Regions from separate parts of the Homo sapiens genome. Here all the other regions are linked to region 3. The links are contacts of gene promoters, found by promoter capture Hi-C in human tissues and cell types (Jung and others, 2019). All regions are on one chromosome and are shown on one strand. Each heading gives the region's core, a stretch centred on a gene start or on the middle of the fragment in contact. The rest is flanking DNA. Distances are from core to core; before and after follow the strand shown. Region 1 overlaps LOC105375371 (a long non-coding RNA gene). Region 2 has its middle 280 kb from the start of MAGI2. Region 3 holds the start of MAGI2 (membrane associated guanylate kinase, WW and PDZ domain containing 2). Region 4 has its middle 310 kb from the start of MAGI2.

Region 1 (5,072 bases), core at 369-2,868, 330 kb after region 3:
AAATAATGATCAGATGAGTAAAAATTAGTAATAGCTAATGGAACAATTATATTATTGGGTGTCTATTTCCTCAGGGGTTGTCCTGATACTATTTAATTGAACAATCATTTATTGAACTAGTCTGTGCCAAATATTATGCTAAACCTAGGCATATAAAAATGAATGAGGCACAAAACCTGCCCAAAGGAAGTTCAATCTATTAGAAGTATCAGATAAACAAGTAAATTTTTAATACTGAGTAATAATGACAGGATGGGAAAATATACAAGGTGTGGGAAATGTAATACATTCAGAGGGATTGAGCAGGAAATGTTTTCTGAACTAACATCTAAGTAATATTTTGAAGAACTGATATCATTCCAAGCCAGGCACTGTGTTAGAGAACTAAGTGAGAGGAAAATAATGAAAGGGTTTGCTTGCCATTATAATGAGTCAGGGATTCAATATCTTCTGAACAGTTAAAGGTTATAGGTATGAGATAAACATTCAGACACATGCTTTTGAGTTACATTATGAAACAAGCATAAAGAAAGAAAGGCTGGCTAAGAAATTGATGTGACTGAAACATACATCTCTGGACTTGACAGTAATGAGAACACGAACCAAGGCCACAGGAATGGAAACTGGGTGGGAATGATGTGTTCAAGAGATATTTAGAAGGTAGAGTTTCGTGCCATTATGACTGTTTCAGTGCACTGTATTAGAGAATGAGGAATACTACTCAGACGATACTAATTTATTCAAGTATTTTGTAATCCAACACTAGATATTATCCTTGAATTGGAAAACAAATGGGAATTAGAAGTCTGTAATAAGCTCAACACGGCTGAAATTTTTTCCAGCTTTGGCAAATTGTTAATTGAGGCAGCAAAATGAACTGATTAAGAGGAGGAATTCTGAAGCCAGAATTTCTGGCTTTGAACTCATGGTCTGCCAGAAAATATTCATAGCTGTTTGTTGAATAAATGAATGAATAGATGAATAAATAAATACCAAATAAAAAACAGATTAAAAATGGGAAGAAAGACAAGTACTTAGAAACATACAGGTATTTGATATCTTAGCTAATATTTCTGCAACTCACTTTCTTTATCTATGGAATGGGATATGGAATAGAAACTACTTGTCATGGTTGATAATTGTCTTAGTCTGCTCATACTGTCGTAACAAAACGCCACAGACTGGCTGTCGTAAACAACAGAGATTTATTTTCTCTTGGTTCTGGAGGCTGGAATGTTGAAGATCACGGTTCAGGCAGGGTTCAGTTTCTGGTGAGAACCCTCTTCCTGGCTTGCAGATGGTGCCTTCTCACTGCATCCTCACATGGCCTTGCATGCACACAGAGTGAGATGAGAGAGACAGAAAGAGAGAGAGATAGAGAAAGCTCTTGTGTATTGTTTTGTAAGTAAACGAATTCTATCAGATCAGGTCCCCACTTCACTCATTTAACCTTAATTATTTCCTTACTCCAATATGGCCACTGTGGAGGTTAGGGGTGGCCATATTCGATATATGAATTTTGGGGGAATACATAGATTCAGTCCATAACAATAATATATCTAAAGAAATTGGAACAGAGCCTAATGAGATATTATTATCATCTTTATACCTAGAATATTTCTACTAAAATATACCTATGAATGTCATTTCCAAAAAGATAAGGATTTATGTCCATTTTATTAACAACCGAATCCAAAGTTCCTGGAATAATGCAAATAGCAGGTGCTCAATAAGTATTCATTGAATGAATAAGAGAGTACCACTAATAGGCATATACAGTTGTAGTTATTCCTTTAATAAGCAGATAGTGCTTAGTATGTGACATACATTATTCCAATACTTTATATAACTCAATACATTTAATCCCTGTCATAACTTCATGAGATAGCCTAATTGCTTCCTTTTCACAAATGAGAACTCTGAGGTGATAAGAGGTATCACTGCTTGTCAAAGGTCACATAGGAAATAAATGGCAAAAGTAGTATATGAACCCAGACACTATGGCTCTAGAGTTTCATGCTATTATCGATGACACTACAGAGTTGGCTCTAGGGTCCACAGACATGGCTGTAATGACAGTTCCCAAGTAAAGGGTCTCTTTTTTATTTAGGCAGAGTGTCTTAATTGATATGTTCACTGAAGGATCAAGTAAATTCAAAATGACAGCAAGCCTTTAATGATCTCTCCAGCTGGAATATTCGTTTCATAACTTGAGAAAAATAGCTGTGCTGGTTGCAGCTGAGATTCAGAAGATAGCAAATATCTCAGCATCCTGCTATTGCCAGTCTCACAAAGCTTTGGGTCTAAGTAGAAGTTGGTATAATATTCCTTGTTTTAATTATTTTGCATCTGTGCTACATTTTACTCTTGCATGTTTATTTCTTTCTGTCATACACCTTATTTCACCTGATCTTTGTAACCTCTATGTTTTGTACTATATTCTGCTATGTTTCTTATTTCATCTTCTTACACGCTATCCTTTCTGTTCATGCACTTTTTTCTTCCACAATAAGACTTCATTCTTTACTGTTAAGACTCACATTCTTTTTGGCTTCTTGCAGTTGTTTTTGTGATTTTCTTCATTTGTTTTTCTGTTTTTTCTTGGCTCTGCATGATAGACAGCGATTATTTATCAGCCATTTGTGGTTTCTTAACATTGCCAACAGGCTGACAATTTTCCCATTTCTTTCTCTGTGAGGTTTCTGAATCATCTTTTAAAGTAGTTCTCTGTACCAGAAAAACAGAATATCAAAATGCTGAGCGACAGTTTACATGAAACATGCACTTTGCTTTGATTGTCTTTTTCTGAGACAAAAACGTACCATTCCTGTGTTACTACAGTACCAACTTTCAGAACTGAAATTTTCTGCCAGTAAGTTAGTTCCTCTGGTCTAGATGATAAAAGCAGACTGATATTACAAGAAAACCATCTAAAAGTGCATATATTTTTAATTTGATTGTCCAGAAGGTATTCTGCATCCCTTTTCTATTGACATGCTGCTATGGATTAATGAATTTTCCTTAATATTCCCTATTGATGAATCAGAGGGCTTTCACACAAATAAATTATTTTATTCCCGAAAGTAAATTTATCCTTCTAAAGATTAAGAAGGATTAAGCTTTGAGTTTATAGTATCTTCGTATCTATATATAAATGCATTAAAAACACACACTGACCCTCACACACACACACATATATATATGTGTATATATGCATAAATATGTTTGGCAGGTATATAATAATTCATATATTTTATATATTATAAATATTATTTAATATGTTATATAAATATCATTTTATCTTTCAAACTTCTCCCTAAAACATTAACATTACATTCTTCAATATACGTGAATTTCTACAGCTATTGCATTGAAAAGCAAGAACATCAGTCTAGCCATGTTTTATCAAAATTGCCTCAAAATGCATTTTTTGTCTCAGCATCCTTATCTTATGATGAAGAAAGACTAAGCTTGTAAAAACCCCACCTGCATGGAGAATTTTTTTTCCTAGGGTGGAAAATATAAGGGAGAAAGAAAGCAACTCATATCTTATCCATTATGATTAACAGCCCATGCTAATGACATTCATTAAGCTAAATGAGCAGGAGAATGAGGACTCAAGCTTTCTAATTGAGGCAGATTTATTTTTAGGATGAAATTCTCCCAAAATACATTTTCTTTTTTAAAACATTGAGTGTCATTTCAAGGCATATAATTTAAACAACTGATTATGGATGGGATATGCTTTAGCCCTTTTGGAAGTATAAAATTATACAACCAGCAAAATCATCATTATCACTTTTATAGTTTTATTATGACTATTATTTATTACATGAGTGGATAAAATATAAAAAGGAAGGAAAAATGATCTTCATTAAAGTTAATGACTCATCTTAGCAATTTTGTTATTGAGTTAACTATTTAAGATCTCTTCTGCCCTAGATCTTCTGCTGAGTGAGAGTATTAGTCACATCTATTAAACACATACCTACAAAAATAGTAGCACCTTAGGATAAGAGGCTTGGAAATATGTTTTACATATGCTGATATCTACTTTGCTTTAAATTAAAAATATATATATACACATATTGACATACATATATGTAGCATATACGAATATTAGGAAGCCTGTCACAAATAACATAGGTTTTAATACAAATTGTACACAGAAGATTCTACATATTGAAAGTATTTTTATAATAAATATGTATACTTCTTAATGTATTACTGAAAGATCAATGGACTTGTCATTAAAGGATCTGAATTTAACTTATACTTCTTCCAGTATTAGCTTTGTATTATGGGAGAGTCTCTAAAATAGAGATAGTAAATGTGAGCTCAAATAATAACTTCCAAAATTTTTTTTCTGACTACAACAAAGTAATTTGTTTTGAGCAAATCCTCTTACAAAAAAAATTATGAACGACAAAATCTATGAAACAACTATTTGAAAGCATTAGAGATAAACCAACTGAGGCAGGATTTAAGGATCTGTAATCCTTGAGAGAATGGAAGAGCATAAGATGATTTCCACATTCATCCATCTTTTTCCTTGAAAACATTTTTCAATTCACTGCATCATAGAGCAGAGCCCAAGCAGAACCCAGCGTCTCACTTGGCTGAAAGTCAGTGACTGGAATTTAAAGCTGCCAAATTGGATAAGACTCAAGAAGCAAAAATCTTTGAAATGAGGAAACTACTATAATGAGTAAAAAAAATCTACAGGCAAATCCCCTTCTAGTTTTTGATTAATTACCCATCCTTGCACATGAAAAATGAAACTGAAAAAAGAATGATGAACAAAGGAAGAAGAAGGAAGGAAGGAAGGAAGGGAGGGAAGGAGGGAGGGACGGAAGGAGGGAGGGAAGGAGGGAGGGAAGGAGGGAGGGAGAGAGGAAGGAAAGGAGGGGAGGAAGAAAAGGAAAGAAGGAAAAAAGGAAGCAGGGAAGGAAGGAAGGAAGAAAAGAAAAAGACTAGAAATGAATATTAGCTGAAAGGAAACAACTAAACAGAAATTTTATCAGTTATATAATACCAGGGAGGCAGATGTTGAAGATCAAACCCTGGAATGA
Region 2 (4,714 bases), core at 829-3,328, 280 kb after region 3:
CAAGCTTACTATTAAAGGGTGCTGCCAGACAAAGCCAGTCTACAAAAACAAGTATAAGTACCTAATTTTTCAAGTGCACAGACATCTACGCATGGCCACAAGGATCAAGATCAAACAGGGAAAGGTGACAGCACCAGAGACAAAATAAAATGCCAGTGACTAAGCCTATAGAAATGGAGATGCATGAAAGCCTGACAAAAATACTGTTTTATAGAAGCTAAGGAAATTTCCATAAAATGCAGAGAAACAATTCAAACAAATAAGGAAAACAATAAGTGATTATAATTAGAAATATAAGGGAAGATTGAAATAATTTTTTAAAAGCAAAAATCTTAGAGCTGAAAAATACAATGAACAAATGAAAAAATGCAGTAGAGAACATCAACAGCACTTGATTAAACGGAAGAAGGAATCTGAAAACTCAGACAGGTTATTTGAAAATATACAGTTAGATATTTTTTAAAAGAAAAACGTAATGAGAAAGAATAAAGCAGACATGCAGGATTTATGTGACAGAATCAAAAGAGCAATTTTTATGAGTTATTGAAATTCAAGAGAGAGAAGAAAGATAAAGGTGTAGAAACCTTATTTAAAGAAATAATAGGGAACTTTTCAAAACTGAAGAAAGATATAAATATCCAGGCACAGGAAAGTTTGAAGTCTTCAATCAAATTCAATCTAAATAAGACTACCCCAAGACATATTATAATAAAACTGTCAAAAATCAAAACAAAGAATCATGAAAGCAGAGAGAAGCAAATAGCATATAAGGCAGTTTTAGTACAACTACAAGCCAACTTCTTTATAGAAATCCTACAAGCCAGGAGATAATGGAATGATATATATAACATACTGAAAAATAAGGTGCCAATCAAGACTGTGGTATCCAGGAAAGCTTTCCTTCAGAAATGAAGCAGAGACAAAGACTTTCCCAGACAAACAAAATCTGAGGGAGTTCATCATCTCACCTGTCTTATAAGAAATGCTAATGAAAAATCACTTTACCATAAAGGAAGAGGAAAGGAACAAAGGCGCTACTAAGCAGCTAGTAAGCAATTAACAAAATGGCAGTAGTAAGTCCCTACCTATCAATAATAACATTGAATATCAAGGGATTAAATTCTTCAAACCAAAAATATAGCATGACTGAATAAATTGAAAACAAGAACCAACTATACGTTGCCTACAAGAGACTCATTTTATCCGTAATGACATATATAGATTGAAAGTGAAGGTGCTGAAAAAAAAAATACTCCATGTCAGTAGAAACCAAAAGGGAACAGAAGTACCAATTTTTATATCAGATAAACAAAACTTTATGTCAAAACTGTAAAAAGAAACAAATAAGTTTTTTATGTAATAAAAGAGTTAATACAGCAAGAGAATATAACAGTGGTAAATACATATATATATAAATACATGTAAATACATATATGTGTGTGTCTGTATATATATATAAATAAAGTATCATTTCTCACCACAAGAATTTGAAAGCAGAAATCTATACAGAAGGAATTCTGGAAAATTTAGAAACACATGAAACACATGGAAATTAATGAATTGCTCTTAAAACACAAATGAGTCAAAGAATAAATTAAAGGGGAAATTTAAAAATAAATGGAGGCAAATGAACCTAGAAACACAACATACCAAAACCTATGTAATACAGCAAAATCAGCTCCAAGAGGAAAGCTTATAGCAATAAATATCTATATCAAAAAAGAAAAAAGCTCTCAAAGAAGCAATTTAACATTTCACCTGAAGGAACTAAAAGAAAAAAAAAAACAAGAACAAACTAAGTCAAAAATTAATAGAAGGAAAAAAATAATATAGGGTCAGAGCAGAATGTAAAAAAGTTGATCCCATAGAAATAAAGAGTAAAATGGTTGTTGGTAGAGGCTGGGGCATTTTGCAAGTAGGGACTTGGGAGGATGTTGGTCAAAGGACACAAATTACAGTGAGATGGAAGGAATAAAGAGATCTATTGTACAGCATGGTTACTGTAGTTAGTGATGATATTTTTTATTGTTAAAAGATGCTAACACAGTGAGTAAGTGTTCTCACCACAAAAATGGTAACTATGTGAGGTAATGCATATATAATTAGGTAGATTTAACCATTTCATAATGTATGTACTCTTCAAAACATCCTGTTGTTCATGATAAATACATGCAATTTTATCTGACAATTTAAATAATAAAGCAATCAACAAAGTAAACAGGCAACCTACAGAATGGGAGAAAATATTTGCAAACTATGCATTTGACAAAGGTCTAATATCCAGATTTTAAAAGAAACTTAAACAAATTGACAAGCAAAAAACAAACATTACAAAGCAGGCAAAGGACATGAAGAGACACTTCTCAAAAGAAAACATACATGCAGCCAAAAAAAATATGAAAAAAATGCTCAATATTACTAATCATTAGAGATATGCAAATCAAAACCACAATGAGATGCCATCAAAGAAATACCATAAAATATGAGTGAGATACCAATAAGAATCTTTATTCCAGAGATATACACTATCTACCTGCACATACCATACCACCAGTTAGAATGGCTATTATTAAAAAGTTAAAAAAAAATATGTTGGTGAGGTTGCTAAGAAAAGGGAACACTTAGACACTGCTAGTGGGAATGTAAATTAGTTCAGCCATTGTAGAAAGCAGTGTGGTGATTTGTCAAAGAACTTAAAATAGAATTACCATTCAACCCAGCAATCTCATTATTGGGTAAACTCAAAGGAATATAAATCATTCTACCATAAAGACACATGCACATATATGATAATCACTATTCACTGTATCAAAGACATGGAATCAATCTAAATGCCCATCAACAGTAGACTGGTTAAAGAAACTGTGGTACATATACATCATGGAATATTATGCAGCTATAAAAAGAATGAGATCATGTCTTTGCAGCAAGATGGATGGAGCCGGAGGCCATTATCCTAAGCAAATTAACACAAGAACAGAAAACCAAATACCACATGTTCTCACTTATAAGTGGAAGCAAAACACTGAGTACAAATGAATACAAAGAAGGGAACAACAGATAACAGGCCTACTTGAGGGTGGAGAGTGGCAGAGGGGAGAGGATCACAAAACTACCAATCAGGTATTATGCTTATTACCCGAGTGATGAAACAATCTGTACCCCAACCCCTCGTGATGTACAATTTACCTACACAAAAACCCTGCATATGTACCCCTGAACCTAAAATAAAAGTTAAGACAAAAGAAATTTGAAGGAAAAATAAGTATTTTGAAAAAAATTATCTTAAAAGTTTAGGTTCGCAAAATCTTCAGTCTTTAATTCCTCTTAATATGTTCCATAGATTAAATGACCCATGGCTTTTTTCTGATGTACTTTTGAACAATGTGAAGAAAATTACAGGAATTTATATATTCAGAAATATATTCATCAATTTCATACATACTAAAAAGGAAGACAGAAAACATACCAATGAGATATTTTTATAGGATTTAAAAAAATTTATGGAATAAAGATGAAATAAGAAATAATTTAAATTTCAGTTTAACACTAAAAGAATTATAATCTCTGTGTGGCCTGAAAAGATATTTTAGTTTGTATATTTCTTTCCATTCTCTGATCGAGTTCAGGACATATTACTCTAAAATATGGCATTTTGGCATTCAAGGAAGCAGCAGCAGAAGTTTATTCTCACTTTCTTCTCGCTACTCTCCCGTAAAGCAGGCTATAAGAGAATTATCTGAATCTGAAGTAGGTCATAGAACCTTTATTCCAGAGGTGTCCACCCTCTACCCACACATAAGGAACGTATGAAGAAACAGGCTAGCCAAATTCCCCTCAGTTTATTACCATACCCTCTTCTTTTCCAATCACACGTCTGCATTACAGTCCATAAAAATATTCAGGTTTCCCTCTTTCTTACCATGTTGATTTGTGAAGTCTCTCATGTCACGTAAAACTTGTGTTAAATACATCTGTATTCTTTTCACTTGTTAATCTGTTTTTTGATAGACGAGTCTTGAGCATGAATTTGTGATGGGTAAAAGATCTTTTTTCTCCTACATTTCAAAAATACATAAAAAATCAAACTGCAAGTCTTTGAGGAGCATCTTGCAGAACTGTAGGCACAAGGGCACTGGTGCCTAGAAAGATTTCAAGCGTGTGATTCAAATTCATTTCTATATTCAGCGTATATTATAATGTAAAACTGTAGAATCTGTTTTTCTCTTCTGACTTATTTTTTCATTCTTCCACAATTTGCTGAATGTGCATTTCTATGTATCGAACAACTGTCATGATCAAATTATCCTTGCTCCTATCTCCCACTATGTCTAACTATTCTAGAGGAATGTGTCCCTGTGGGTACACTAGTAAGGCCAATTACTTCTTGAATTGCTTTACTCACTTCTGATATAATTTATGAATATGTTGCTCTCTATAATTCCTTCATAAAGTCAAGAATAGTAATATAATGGAAGCATCTGAAATTATCTGAAGTGCATATTTAATTCTCCTACCATTTATGCATTATTTAATTAAAATAACATTTTTGCATATCATCAAGTTTATTTTAATATAGACATTTATCTCACATGCAACCTAAAGAATCTTAAAAATTCCAATTTATTTGCTGTATAAATATGGTGATATTTTATTCATTCAGCACTGTTGGGCATAGATAAATCCATATAAGGAAATTTTCAAACAACTGAAT
Region 3 (4,437 bases), core at 1,584-4,083:
AACAGGGTGCTCACAAATTTTTGGAAAACTCTGTTAGAAAGCTCATGATTTAATGAAAGTAAAGCTGCTTCATCCTTTCAAATTTCTCATAGATTTATCACCATTTTGTCCTGTGGGCTATCACAGGATAGTCAGAATTCCTTTTCTTACCTGATAGCTTTTCGCTATTTAATGATAGCTTTCATTCTTTCACTTCTCCACGTTAAGTCTTTCCACGGCATTTCATAGAATACATCTATAATACACAATAATCTTCCTTTATTTCTCTTTTGAACTTACTCTTTGCTAGCGTGACAGTTTGCCAACGTCCGCCTCAACAAGGAGTGCTCAGAATTGAACACAACATTTAAGATGTGATGATCATTGCAAACTATAATAGGGCATCCGTTTGTGGGACTCTATTAAGTCCAATTTAACAACGCTTAACTTTTGCAGCCACGTTCCATGACAAATATCAAGCATTTGGCCAACAAAACCATGGTCATTAGTTGTGTAGTAGACTTTTCGTACCCAAAGATCTTTCCATTTATGTCTATTCCTATAAGGTGGTATTTTGACATCGAACATGTTAACATGAATCTCTGTATTTGAACCTTAGGTATCTTATCTTCAAAAATATCAAGTTACTCTATTTTCCTTCCTACCAAACTCATATCCCTTCAGTGTTAAATAGTATGGAGCTATGTTGACTTATAATAACCTATCTCAATTTATTACCTCTTAATACTCAAGAATACCCAAGGAAAACATTTTCTTGTATGGCAATTTACATTTAAGAAACCTTGCCCAGTACTTCTTTTTATCTTGTTTATTTTAAAACAAGTTTTTTAGAGAATAATTTAACAGTGCGGTACATCTCCGTAAAAGCATTTCTTAGTAGTTGATCATGATTAAGCGGCAAAATGCAGGTAATGACATGCTCAATTCCACCTTTGAGTCAGGACAAACAGTGTACATCGACGACAACAACAAACCCTTATGCTAATATGCCTGTGACGCAAATATCCATACATACCGCACACGAATTGTGCAGTGAGCTAAAAAAGAAAACAGAAAAGAAAAAAGCTACTACTTTATTCTACTTAAAGTTGTCCTCTATTCAAACTTTTATCTCACTCTTCTCTCCTTCTGCACCATAATTTTCTTTCGAGCAAAGACAGGGAGTTCTGGATGATTCCAATCTCCCCAAATCCACATCACAGCCTCCAATTGAGGTTCATTTAAGTCAGGTTGGAGCTGAGGGAGCCTGGGCTGGAACCGGCCAGGGTTTCATCCAGCTCCTCCCCCAAAACACGCCCCCCAAATCGGAGCCAGAGGAGAGCCCAACCACAGAGGACTTCCACTCAATGAGGGCAACCCCTGAGTAAAGTCCATGCGGACAACCATTCATCTCCTCCGACAACCATTCATCTCCTCCGACCCCCGCCCAGCACTAGACTGCGCTCCTAGCACCGCGCCTTCTTCCGGAGCCTCCTCCCCCGGGCTGGCTAGGGGTGAGCGCAGGGGTTAGTCAGTACGCACGTGACGCGCGATGCCCACATGACACGACCGTGAGCGGGGGAGGGGGACACGGAGTGAAGAAGGGGAAAAGTTACAGAAGACCCGTCAAAGCGCCCAAAGCAATTTGTCCCTTCTTTTCTTCGCCAGCGGTGGCTCACGGATCCCTAAGGGACAGCTGGGGACCCAGGCGCCCCCAGCCCAGCCCCAGAAACGCTGGACGCAGTTCTCCGCTCACCCCACCACCTTCTCTTCCCAGACCCGCTGGTGATGCCGCTGCACCCTGAAGTTGCTCCTTCCTTCTTTCCCTCCCTTCCTCCCATTCTTTCTTTCTTTTCTTCCTTCCTCCCTTCCCCAAAAGCTCTTCATCCGCTTCGGGTGATGCCACTGACGCACATTCAATTTGCCCCAGCAGCTCTGAGGAGGTCAGACCAGGCCGAGCACCTTCCAAAGGGGAGGGTCTAACTGAGCAAACAAAGTTGCACGCCACACCACAACCTGCCCCTCCCCTCCCTTTAGCCCCCAAGTCGAATCCCCGGCGAAACTCACTTGCACTGCGGGTGCTCTCTGGCCCCCACCCCATCATCGCGCAACACACCCCCTTCAACATGCGCGGCCACCCTTTCATTGCCCTGCGCCCCGAGCGGTCCCACCGCCCGGCAAAACACTGAGCAAGCCGCTGCTCTCACCTTGCTTGACACACTTGAGCCGGAGGGGGTCCTTGCAGTGTTTGATCACGGCCAGCACGTCCCTGATGGTGAGCCCCGCCACGGGGGTCTCGTTCACCTCCAGCAGCAGCTCCTCCGACACCAATTTGCTGCCGCTCTCATAGGCCACCTTGCCGGGCTTCACCTCCCCCAGGTAGGGGAACTGTCCATTCTCGGCGCCCCCCTTCAGTTCAAAGCCCAGCTGGCCCTCCGGGTTCCTGCCAATGACACTCTCATGGACTTTGCTAGTCCAGTGGCTTTTCTTTTTCAAGCTTTTGGACATGGCAGTGGGGCGAGTCGCCTCAGTTCCTGGGCTCCTTGGGGTTAGGGGGGCTGGTGGTGAGAGAATGAGGATGGAGGAGCAAGGGGGCCCAGGGGGAAGAACAGCAGACTTTGCCTTCGCCCCCCTCTATTCGGTGCTTTCCCTCTTCTTTGGATGGAGTGTGGACGAGGAATGGGGAGGATGAGAGGGACGGCTGGGCAGAGGTAGGAGAGCTTGGATGAGGTTGTGCTGTCCCTTGAATGACACTCAAGGCTGTGGCCCCGCAGCAGAGGAAGCAGTGGTGGTGGCGTCGGCGGCGGCGGCGGCGGCAGCCGGAGCGAGCAGTAGCCGAGCTGGTGAGCGGGTGTGGTGGGGGTGGGGAAGGAGGGTAGGGATGCCGGGGGCCACTCCTGCGTGGTGCGAGTGGGAACGCGCGCGCGCGCCTGGGTGTGTGTTGTTAGCTGATATCCATGGCAGCTGCAGTGGCAGGGTGCGTGTGCGTGTGTGTGTGTGTGTGTGTGTGTACTAGTTCTACTGTACTGGCAGACGGGAGGAGGCAGGGGAGGAGGGGCGCGCGCGCCGGGTGGGGAGCCACGGAGGGCTTCGCCGCTGCCTCCCTCCCTCCCTCCGCAGCTTGACCCGGTAGTGAAGGCAGAGAGAGAGGCAGGCTGGGTCCGCCTGGCAGCCTACGGGAGGAGGCGGGAGCCGGGAAGGAGGGGAGCCTAGGCCCGGCGTGGGGAGGCCGGCAGGAAGGGCCTCGAGCCCAGTGCGGACCTTTCTTCAGCCTCTGTGCGACCGAGCCGCGCGCCAGGCTCCTGTGCGAGGAGGACGCGCTGACTCCCTCCGACCTGGGCTCCGATGGAGCAGAAATAGCGGGACCTGGACTTGTGGCGCGCCTGGTGCCACATCTCGGGCTCTGCGAGCGTCCTGGCGCGGGATCCTGCCGTGAGAAGGAGTTGGGGCGGGGGACCCGGCGGGGCATTGCGGGAGAAGGCCTGGGATCCCTGGGAGCCTTGTAGCGTGGGGGAGTTCACTGTGTAGAGAGGTTTCATGTCTTCATCTATATAGTCACTTATTTGTCTTAAAGTTCTCGAAATTCCCTCTTAGAGAAGGAGAAAGTTAGAGAACTGGAGGCTGCGTACCCTGATTACGCAGAAGGGAAGCAGCCTCGCATTCCCCGGGGCAGGCCCCCGCCCGCGCGTCCCGCCAGTAGGGGAATTTAGCGGACGGCTGCGGTTGTCTGGTGAAAGGCTATCCAAGGATAAGGGGCTTCACTTTTCCCAAGTAGGGGAAAGAGAAGGGGTCTACAGGGCTAGGGGTGGAGGGAGCGGATGCAGTGAGCAGCCTCCGCAGAGAAATTGACAATTTAACCAGGGACCTGCGGCAGAGACAAGGCGGAGACACTCCCTTGCCCAGGAAAGCCGCCAGAGTCCGGCTTGTACCTGGGGAAGAATCCTTAAGACGGTCTGGCCCAACACTCCTTTGCTCACAGAGAAAGGGGAGAAGACTCCCGAGGGTGAAAATGGTACATTCGGAGCTGGAACTCAGCTCGCTGACCCCAAGCAGTGTTCCCTTCTTTTCGCCAGGTTTGCATCCAAGAGAGGGGAGGACAGGGGCAAAAGGATGCAGGGAGGCTGCTGATTTCCACTGAAGAGCTAATTTCCTGTGAGACATTAACAGTGATTTAAGAAAAAGATTCCTGTAACTGGTAAATGAATTTCATTTGCTTAACTTTTAGATGATATGTTTCAGGCAAAAAAAAAGTTGTGCACCCACTTATCTCTTTAAAGCGGAGGATGAAAAGCATTGAATAGGTAGGATTCTTAATGTCTGAGATGAAGGCGATGTAGGAGGCAAACAATACGGTTAAAAATGTTGAGTCGACCCAAACAGAAAGACCAGGTTTCAATCCAGACTCTGCGGCTTACTGAGAATATGATCTTGAGTAAACTGCTTGACCTTCCTGAGCCT
Region 4 (4,841 bases), core at 1,531-4,030, 310 kb after region 3:
GACACAAAAAGGAGCTGGTACCATTCCTTTTGAAACTATTGCAAACAATTGAAAAGAACTGTCTCCTCCCTAACTCATCTTACGAGACCAGCATCATCCGGAAACCAAAACCTAGCAGAGACACAACAAAAAAAGAAAACTTCAGGCCAATATCCCTGATGAACATCGATGCAAAAAACCTCAGTAAAATACTGGCAAACTGAATCCAGCAGCATTTCAAAAAGCTTATCCACCACAATCAGATTATTTTGTCATGGGGTGCTCACTTGGTGTGGTGTTCTTCCCCTTCCCCTAGGAATGGGGCTTCCTGAGAGCCAAACTCTAATAATTGTTTTTGCTCTTCTGGATCTAGCTACTGGGCTCCAGGCTGGTGCTGGGGAGTATCTGCACAGAGTCCTGTGATGTTATCTGTCTTCAGTTCTTGCAGCCATGGATACCAGCATTTGCTCCGGTGGAGGTAGTAGGGGAGTGAATTGGACTCTGTGAGGGTCCTTGGTTGTGTTTTTGTTTAGTGCACTGGTTTTGTGTTTGTTGGCCTCCAGCCAGGAAGTGGAGGTTTCAAGAGTGCATCAGCTGCAGACTTATAAGGAGGTTGCAAACTTGCCCTAGGGACAAGTGTATTCAGTTTTCTCAGGTGGTGGGCAGGGCCATAGAGCTCCCAAAAGATTATGACCTTTTCCTTTGGCTACCAGGGTGGGTAGAGAAAGACCACCAGGTCGGGTCAGGGATAGCCATTTAGTATATTCAGAAGCATTTTATTCTTGTTGATGCTCTTTTAAATGGAATTGTTTTCTAAATTTCACTTTGGATCACTTGTATATAAAAATATAATTAATTTTTGTATATTGATCTTGTACCCCACAACTTTGCTAAATCTACATTAGTTCTAATAGTATTTTAGTGGATCCTTAGAATTTTTCATAAGGTCATGTCATTTGCAAATAAAGATAATTTTTTTCTTTCCAATCTTGATGTCTTCAAGAGAATTTTCATGGTTGAGAAGAACCAGGTACCGTCAGCTAGCTGAAATCGCACAGCAAAAGACATAAATTGGTGGTTGAAGTTCTGATTAAATGAATATCAGATAGGTGCACTGCAAATTCTGTTTGAAGCCAAGTTGCTGACTTTTTACCTAGGGTTCCTTAAACTCCCTCTGTTTAGAAATGTCATTAATCTAAGAGTTTGAAAAGAGACTGAATGAACCTTCAGTGGAAGCAGATCAAATTAGAAGGTTATAGGTTCACAGGGGCATTGAACTTATAAGACCATAATATGTATTTTACTGGCATAGCCAGAAGGTTAAAACAGATGGTATCGTAGTATCATGCCATATTGACAATATGTACATATATGTGAGTATATAAGGATAATTAATTTTACAAAAATTCATCAAAATTAGGATGGCAAGGAAGCAACCATGACCAAAAAAAATATCATAAAAGATTTCCTTTTTTTCTGCCAGATATTGTTTCTCAAAACCAGTTTCAGCAAACGTATATATCTCGTAGTTTAAGTATAATGTAAATAACTACCATACATATAAAACCCATATTGCAGTAGAGGTTCTAAGACATTACCAAAGAAATTGTAAAACTAACTTTTATGGTTGTCCTTTTTAGACAGAACTTTCAAGCATATCCTGTAAGTATAACAAGTTACTTTTTTTGCCAATAATTTCCAGTAATTTCTCTTCACTTTTACCTTTGGAGGCAGTATAAGGAAATATTTGAAGTTATAGTACCACAAGGTGCCCTACAAATTATTTTTTTCTCTGGGTACTTCTTGGCAGCTATCTGCATGACATATGATACACTCTAATCCTAGGGTTTAATAAGTCCATTTCATGGTTATAACATAAAGCTTTCATGAAACTCTGTAAGGAGAAATGGATAAAACTCACCCAGAAGATAAATGTATAAGTTTTGGTGGGGAATCTACATTTTCCTGTTGCTGATAGTTTTAATTTACCAGACTGACTTGCTTTTAAATTACAAAATTTTTAAAGTTTCATCCAAATCATCGAAATAGAACTGAATTCTAAACTTAAAAAAAGTTCAACTTTACATAATATTAGTCTTCCCCCAACCCCAGTCTAAAGACTAGACTGCATTTAATATTAATAAAGAAAAAATGCCTTCTATTTGCACATCAAATGTTTAAAGCACTCTTCACACATTATCTTGATCTACTCAAAAATCTTGCACCTTAAATTAGTGGCTACTTACAATTTTTAATAGATCCTAAATTCCTCAAAGCCTAATATTGTGTTTTTAATTTTCTTTTCTTTTCTTTTAAAATTGTGTCTTTAAAAAATTATACTTCAATGTTTCACAAAATGTGTGGCAAAACATTATTGCAGCATCCCTTACTGTACGTTCATATCTATCTATTTGACTAAGCATAGAGGTACCGATCTGTTAGATGATTATGAAGTCTCTTCTTACTTGCTTATAAGACTCATCTCAGATTTATCCATTCTACATTAAGAAGGTTTTAATTAAGCTACTATGAAATTAAAGTTTAATTAGCTAGTGCTTCCGGTAAAAAATATAGCTGCTGAGAAAAAATTGTATAGCTGCTGATAGCTTGTAGCCAGCTTGGCAGCTCATGACCATGCTGTGGTGTGCCCTGCTGGGCATTAACAATTTCAGAGAATGTTAGCATCAGATGAGATCACTCTGTCACCAAACTGGAACAAGACAACACACCACAAGTGCAAACATCACAATGACAAATATCCTTCTCTCCTGGCAAATATGAATGACTACTGCTTCTTCTCCAGTGACAATTCCAGCCCAACTTAGCATCTCCCACCTCCTATTCAAATTAATACAAATTGGTTCTACTACCTGACAGTACCTAATTCCAAACAAACCAATAGTTCCTTAAACTTTCCCTCAAATTATCCCGAATAAGATTGAATTTATAATAATCCTATCATAAGTCCCTCTTAATTCCCTCTCCACAATTTCCATGGTGCATGATTTTCCTTACTGTAGCAAATTAATACACATAAATGTGTTTGACTATAATAGGTATGTTTCTGATGGTCTTTGGGTAGTGGGATTAATATATACAAACATACACATATTTGGCCATGTATATTTAGACCTACGTGCAATGACAGAGGGAGATACAGATCCAGACAGAAAAAAAAATGCCAGTTTCCTGGAAAAAACTTATCAAATATTTAAGAAGTGCTAGATGAACCAACTGGACACTTGAACAAAATTAGTGGACAATAGCAATTTTCTGGCCAACACATTATAATATAACTAGGATTGGGTGATTCTGCATGATTTGAAAGAGACGGCAAAGCGAAGAACCCTATACGAGCTTTGAATTTTAAGAAAGTGAACGTCTATTCCAGGAAAGCATTACCCTTTCAATGCTGCAAAATCTTGGAAAAGCACAAACAGTTTTCAATCCCCACTACTCTGGTGTTTTATGAAGAGCTGATCCTGAGCCACTGGAGGCTCCCCTGGAAGTTTCTTCTTCACTTCTTATTCAGGTCTGTTAAAATTTTGCTATTTTCAAACATGACGTTTCTTTGTTCCTAATGTTTCTATGTAACTGTAGTCTTTAGGGCACACAATGAGGAAACTGGCCTTCAGACCTTATTTTACCACTCAATATTTGTAGCCACTGTGCTCAAATAGTCTTTTCAGTCAGGTCTCATTTCTCATTACTTCCAGGCCAAGCAGAGGACTTCAGTCCAATTTGCTGGGAGTCGTGGTACCATTTTGAATTCCTCTCAGACCCTTTCTGCTTCCATCAATTTGGTTTGTCATGCTGACTTCTGGTGGATGAGATGTTTGTTCCCAAACAGTTCATCACCAGACTTCACTTCAAATCACTCACTGCTGTAGATCAAAAAAATGGTTGCCAATAAAGTGTTTGGCTATTTGAACTCTTGTTTTTGTTTTTTTCGTGTTCTCCACAACTTCACCAATCTTAACAAGTTTTCTTCAACCTCCCAAGAGCTCTCAAATTTTCTCAAGACTCGAGTCACAAGAACAAATGCAGATTTATATGTCAGTAGTAATCAACCAACTTAGATTGTGCCTATATGTAGGTATTAATTTTAATCCTTGATTAATTTTACTGGTTCAGCTAATCTAGGTGGACTTTATGAACAGATATAGTCTTATGTAGAGGCAAATCCAATATTTTTCTTTAAACTGTGAAGAAAATTGAAACGGTTACAGGAATGAAAGTCGTCTAATAGAAAGCTGTGAAATATACTTGTAGCACAGATTTTGTTTTTGAGTCCACCTAAGTTTGTAGCAAAGATTTCAAAGGCATTCACTTTTTTTCTTCATAAATTAAATGGGCAACCCATTCTTGATTAATTAAATAATACATTGTAAATGAAAGGACTTAAATGATTTTTACATTGTGAAGGGTTCTGAATTAGTATTTATCTTTATGATTATCTCTCAGGTTAAAGATTTAGGCATCAGTAAATGAAGCCCCGTAAGATGTGTACACGGAATGCCGACAGTGAAAAGTCTACTAAAACGGTAGCTTCTCTAGGGAATGCACTCAATTAGACTATATCAGAAATAACATATCCTATAGGATTTATAATTATTAAACCATTTAAAGAAGACACCTTCATTGTTTACTAATATACAGTAAAAATGGGAAAATACAAAATAAGCAGCAGTCAATAATTTTTTAATGAAATAAAAGTTAAATAGAATCAGTTCTTGTGAAATAGAGAAAACTTATTTAGATATTCCTGTGACAGTAAACATGGTATAACAATATGCCAGAGGCATAAGACACTTTCTAGTTGATTTTAAATACTGTGGTTTTATATTCTCAATCCACGCTTT

What was found. The method cuts DNA at HindIII sites, captures the fragments that hold promoters and counts their contacts. A contact is called where the count stands out against the background at its distance.
Region 1: a contact is called between a fragment that was not itself captured here and the fragment with the promoter of MAGI2 in region 3, in 2 of the 25 tissues and cell types used here (lymphoblastoid cells and mesenchymal stem cells).
Region 2: a contact is called between a fragment that was not itself captured here and the fragment with the promoter of MAGI2 in region 3, in 1 of the 25 tissues and cell types used here (IMR-90 fibroblasts).
Region 4: a fragment that was not itself captured here is called in contact with the fragment with the promoter of MAGI2 in region 3 in 2 of the 25 tissues and cell types used here (mesenchymal stem cells and spleen).

Annotation. Positions count from the first base shown.
Region 1 is chr7:79,785,146-79,790,217 of GRCh38, forward strand. All of the region lies in intron 2 of LOC105375371 (a long non-coding RNA gene), which reads left to right. Among named protein-coding and RNA genes, the nearest start is that of MAGI2, 330 kb to the left of the region's middle. The HindIII fragment of the contact is 3,352 bases long and covers 1-3,294 here.
Region 2 is chr7:79,732,352-79,737,065 of GRCh38, forward strand. No RefSeq gene overlaps it. Among named protein-coding and RNA genes, the nearest start is that of MAGI2, 280 kb to the left of the region's middle. The HindIII fragment of the contact is 3,258 bases long and covers 450-3,707 here.
Region 3 is chr7:79,450,834-79,455,270 of GRCh38, forward strand. MAGI2 (membrane associated guanylate kinase, WW and PDZ domain containing 2) reads right to left here and starts at 2,834. Exons shown (of 22, transcript NM_012301.4): 1 at 2,187-2,834. The coding sequence starts at 2,487. It overlaps MAGI2-AS3 (MAGI2 antisense RNA 3), which reads left to right and starts at 2,124. Exons shown (of 4, transcript NR_038346.1): 1 at 2,124-2,358; 2 at 2,754-2,822. RefSeq lists an enhancer at 1,280-1,574. The HindIII fragment of the contact is 8,431 bases long and covers 712-4,437 here.
Region 4 is chr7:79,761,695-79,766,535 of GRCh38, forward strand. No RefSeq gene overlaps it. Among named protein-coding and RNA genes, the nearest start is that of MAGI2, 310 kb to the left of the region's middle. The HindIII fragment of the contact is 7,009 bases long and covers 1-4,841 here.